Linked DNA regions of Homo sapiens: region 1 is linked to region 2. The links are contacts of gene promoters, found by promoter capture Hi-C in blood cells and fetal thymus (Javierre and others, 2016). All regions are on one chromosome and are shown on one strand. Each heading gives the region's core, a stretch centred on a gene start or on the middle of the fragment in contact. The rest is flanking DNA. Distances are from core to core; before and after follow the strand shown. Region 1 overlaps DIAPH2 (diaphanous related formin 2). Region 2 holds the start of DIAPH2 (diaphanous related formin 2).

Region 1 (2,700 bases), core at 115-2,614, 310 kb before region 2:
AATATGTGCACCTCTAAGTATAGATAACAAAAATACACAGAGGAATGTGATCTTTGTACAGACTAACCTAGGAATTTTCCATTCAAGTAATCACTGACATAAATAAAAGAGATAATCCCAAGATTTTTTTTACACTATATTCACATGTCTTATTAGGCCTTTAAAACAATTGTGTTTATAACCATCTCCTTAACGAGGTCAGAGGTGAGAAAAACTATCACCATGAAACAACTGCAACTCTTATTTTAGGTGGCAACAAATCTGACTGTTCGCAAAATATACTGCACTGATTAGGTGATAGGAAAGAGTTATAAATAAGAAAATAAGAATATATCCCAGCTTTACTTCATTGCTTTTATTTTGTGGCTTTACTAGTTTGGAATGTGATTTCACAGATCAAACTGTGGGTATCTAAGCTCAATATCGAATATCAAAAATACACTGAAATCAACATAATCATCAGTGCTTTTGGAATACCCACACAATTCCATCTCATCCAAATGCATGGCATATATACACAGTCATTGAGAATAATATAACTATAGCAATTCAAACTAAGTATCTATTAAATAAGGATTGTGACTGTGACCATTAAGTTTTGACACTTAACACACACTCTAATTAAGGCAATATTTAATGAACTAGTGGTAGTTACTAAGAAAAATAATGAGCAAAATCTGGCCTTATCATTAGACAATTTCTTAACAATTGTGACAGTATTGTCAGTGAGAATTCAACTACCTAGTTCATTTCTGTCAACATTTTACTGACAAAAATGCCCTAATAGAATCCTTGACCTTCAATAAAGAGTTTAAATGCATCAAGCACAAATCATTAAGTATTTTTCAAAAGCATACCATGGCAATTCTGACATTTTACAAGGTCATTTTTCAGAAGCATAAATGGATAAAGGTTTTACTCTGTAAAATTACTAACATAACTTTTATGAATTGTATGAAATTAAAATTAACTAGGTCAATCATATTCAATGTTTTCTTTGCTAGTATCAAAAACTGTGTGACAAAAGTAATTTAAATCAAAAATGGTCATTTCCACATTTCCAACCAACCATTATACTCCATTGTGAATGAAGCAATCTGAGGATGAAACTTACTGGAGAAACTTACTGGAGAATTAACTTTCAAAAGAACTGCTTTGAATTTCAGATTCTCAGCTATTTGTCTGACTGTATTTTATCTCTAGGTGAAGAGTAGAGATAAATAAGCATATAATGTAATGTGGCACTTCATAGAAATCTAGGGTGTAAATACAATGGAAACAAATTCAAGATTTGAGTTGTTAACCCTTTCTTTTTTTCAAGCCTAGTTATTTAAATAGGACTATCTGCTTTGATTAGGTTTGGATTTTATATGAATGCCTGATGTCACATTTTTTTAATATTAACTAGGATCCCAGACTCAGAAAATATACTCTTCATATATTCTTCTGAGCTACAATCTTCTACACATTACTGCCTATAAGACAGTAGCCTACAGCCACTTAACTGAGAAAAAAAAAAAGAAAATATACTCTTCAGGTATTAACTGCCTTAACCAATATTAGAGTGTATTCAAATAATTAATCTTTAGAGAGGGCTAAACTAACACATTTCATTCATTTGTCAACTGTCTCCTTTGTAAACTGTGATGTGTGTACTGCTGTAAGGTATTATATATTAATAAAATTTGCCAATTTTCCATAATAAATTGGACCCAATTTTATTTTGAAATGTGGCTGAGAATACCCAGTGAGGCTTCAACTACTGAATACCTTCAAAATCCTTAGCCTCAGCCCAGACTGGTCTGTGAGTTCCAGATCATATGCTTTGCTAGTTGCTGAACATCTCCAGCTGCTTATCATATTCAATAGGATTTAACAATTCATTCTTTCTTTCTCTTAACAAACGTTACATTCCTCCTGTATTATCTCAATGACTGACATCAACAGATACCTCCAATGGTCCTAAACTCCAAAGAATTCCAATCTGGCTTCCATCTACACTAAGTGTTAGAAAATAATGCATTAAGATCAATAACATTCTTGATACTGCCAAACCTAAAATATATTTGCTGCCTTTATCTGACTTTAAGCAATAATCTACACGACGAAACTAGTCCCTCCTTTCTTCCTGAAACAGTTTCTTCTCCCGGCATTTATTATATCATATTGTTCTTCATTTTGCCACTTCTTTGTTGGCATTTTCTTTGCTGGCTGCTCTTCCTCCCATTGGCCCTTCAAATGTTAGCATTCAGCAATTAATCCTGGGCCCTCTTTATTTTTCTCTTTCTACAGTTCTTCTTCAGGTAATTGATATGGTTAGGCTTTGTATCCTCACCAAAATCTCATCTTGAATTGTAATCCCCATAATCCCCACGTGTCAACTGAGAGACCAAGTAGAGGTAATTGAATCATGGGGGCAGTTTCACCCATGCTGTTCTCATGACAGTGAGTGAGTTCTCATGACATCTGAATAGTTTTATAAGGGGCTCTTCCTGCTTCTTTTGGCACTTCTCCTTCCTGCTGCCTTGTGAAGAAGGTGCCTTGCTTCCCCTTCACCTTCTGCCATGATTGTAAGTTTCCTGAGGCCTCCCCAGCCATGCTGAACTGTGAGTCAATTAAACCTCTTTCCTTTATAAATTACCCTGTCTCATGTATTTCCTTATACCAATGTGAGAATGGACTAATACAGTAATTTTATAC
Region 2 (2,700 bases), core at 181-2,680:
GGATCCAAACCAAATGGCCAGATGCCATAAGAAACGGCTTTATTTATATGTCACCCTCTCCTTGTCTATTATAATCAAGTTGGTAGTTAAAGCTGAAATCTATACATTCAACATGTGGCTTGTGCTTCGGATCTGGACTAAGAATACAGCTCTAAGGAGTATCTGCTGAATTTGTACAGGAAAACCCTTTCCCCTCACACCACCCAAATTAGAAAGTTTACAAAAAGCGGAACCCTTCTGATGAGCTGAGGAAACTCCAGTATTTCCCAATGCAATACCAGGCCTCATCGATTTCATTCCTCTGCACATTCAGTGGCAGGAAATGGACTGCTACCATCGGTTCACACTATCAGCACGGTGAGATTTGCACAGTTTGTGCCTACTGCTTTTGAGCGTTCTTAATCAACTAAGTGGAAGTACTGTATGACTATGCCTATTACACACACTCGACAGTTGGTGGTACCTCACCCAGCCTCAAACTCCCACGCGCCCCCACCCTTCCAAAGAAACATTTCTTGGGAGAGCACATGGAGAGAGGCAAGGAGGAGGAAAAAGGCACGTAGGCGCCTCTTCCTGAGATTTCTGGTAAAGTAGAAAGACTGGGAGCATAAATAGTGTTCTTCTTGATTTGCGAAGCTGTAGGTGGGCTCCCAAGGACTTGGAATAAAAAGGAGGGAGGTTCCCCTGCCCCGGACCCTACGCGTTAGGAGGCAAAACAGCAACTAACAAGAAGTGGGAGGAGAATGGAATCGCGCAAAGGTTTGCGCCCACAAGTTAGACAAACAACAGCCCTACCCAGTACTCGGGGTGTCCCCAAGTTGGGGCTGGGCCTTTCTCCTTCCCGCACCGCCTCCCGGGCTGACAAGAGTGAGAAAGGGGTTAAGTAGAGAAGGGGGTGCTCTTCCGCCCCCACGCCGTCTCCGCGCCTCGGCGTGGCCACTCCTTTAGCGGCTCCCCGAGTTGCACAGCGAGGTCGCGGTCATCCTTGGGAGGGGGCCCCGGGTGCCCCCGTGTTCAATGGCAGGAGGATCCCGGGGCTCTCCCTGTCCCTAAGGCCGGCGGGGGCTGCGGGAGCACTCACCAATTTGGGTTTGTTTTTCGTTTCCTCTTCATTGGCGGCCCGGTTCCCCGCGCTCCGCTTGTTGCTCCGGCCCCCACCGGGTTCCTCGCTGCCGCCTCCCGCTCCCGACGCCGCCGCCCCGGGCTGCTCCATCTTTCTCCGGCCCTGTCACCTGTGCCCTGTAACCCCACCTCTCCTCAACTGAGAAAGCACCTCGGGGCGCTCACACTGCCCCGCGCTGACTCGGCGGCACCTCTTCCTGAGGGAGAGAGTGTCTGCCCGGGAAGCTGCCGATTTCAGGCCCCCGGGACTCCAGGCTCCCAGGCACCCCCGACGCAACCACGCCGTTGCCACTACTCGGCGCTGGGGCAAGCCCTGCCCCTGAGCAGTTGCAATTACCACGGTCGCCGCCGCCCTCAGGGCGGTGTTTAGGGTGGAGGGAAAAGTAGGTGCCTATCTCTTTAAGAGGGCCTCAACACACGTGATTCTTCAAAGTGCCCGCATCGGCCGCCCGGGCGCGCAAAGCTGCTTCCTACTCCCGCAGCCGAGCCGGCCCCAGCTACTGAGCATGCCCGGCGCGGTGACTGGAGCCTAACAGAGCACTTTCAGCTGCGGTTAGGCACTGATTTCACTTCCTAGTGGCCCAGCGAGAACAGGGAGGGAACTAGTCAAGAGAAAGGAAGGGTAGCCCATTTTAGAGATGGGGAAACTGAGGCCCGGGAAGATCCGCCTGTAAGTTTCACTGGCGGGTCAACCTGAGTATCAGCTTTCACTTCTGTGGGCCACAGCACCTTCCCTCCCTGAGGCCTCTCCGGGGGTGTGGTCCTGCTACAGTCTGTGGAAAGACTTGATTGGCAAGGGAACTGGCATCCTATAGGAAAACCACCGGGAGTGCTGATTAATTGCCTCGACAGACTGTGTGTGGGTCAGAGTGGAAAGAGTGAGTGCTTTCTGTTGTCGTGATTACGTTGTGACCGAAGAAATACAGTTGTTCCTTTATTCCCTTGCTGCAGGGTTGTTGAAGCAGCAGGCGCCCACCGCTTAATCCCTAGGGGATTGTTAGGTTCTATAACCAAAACACTTACATACAGCTAGCAATTGAATTGAGTGCTATTTTCAGGTTCCCGAACTAGTTTAGAGTTGTTGTGGGGAGTGAATAAGATCATGTGTGTCAAAGCTTTGTTGTAAATGAAAATCCCTAGACAAATGCTAGGTGTTTTTGTGCAGCAGCAGGGCACTGTTGGGACGATAGTCTTAAGTCCTTGCGTCATACCTAGCATTTTGTCCTCAGGACAAAATATAGTACCCACACTGTATTTCTTCCATCCTCTTTAAATGATGCCCTTTAAAAGTAAAGGTACACACTGAGAACATTAGACGGGGTGGGTAGGATTTGAATGAACCACCATCATAGAATAGGAGCACATATGCTAGGAAAGCTACCTATAAAGTAAATTTAAATATGAAATCTATAAACATGCCATACACCTATTACTGAAGATATCTCCAGACTATGACTCCTTTTGACCTTCTCCCCTTCGGCCTAAATTTAATATGCTGAATGGAATTTGTATCTGAACATATTTATTGAGAGTGCATTAGGATGCATTTGACCATGCTATAGGTGCAAGGAGACAGCT

The links. Contacts are between HindIII fragments. The CHiCAGO score rates a contact against its expected background, and 5 or more counts as called.
Region 1: a contact is called between a fragment that was not itself captured here and the fragment with the promoter of DIAPH2 in region 2, in 2 of 17 cell types (monocytes and total B cells). The highest score is 5.5, in monocytes.

What each region holds. Positions count from the first base shown.
Region 1 is chrX:96,994,563-96,997,262 of GRCh38, reverse strand. All of the region lies in intron 17 of DIAPH2 (diaphanous related formin 2), which reads right to left. Among named protein-coding and RNA genes, the nearest start is that of RPA4, 110 kb to the right of the region's middle. The HindIII fragment of the contact is 3,003 bases long and covers 1-2,700 here.
Region 2 is chrX:96,683,572-96,686,271 of GRCh38, reverse strand. DIAPH2 (diaphanous related formin 2) reads right to left here and starts at 1,430. Exons shown (of 27, transcript NM_006729.5): 1 at 1,082-1,430. The coding sequence starts at 1,213. RefSeq lists enhancers at 213-926, 927-1,642. The HindIII fragment of the contact is 2,760 bases long and covers 1-2,239 here.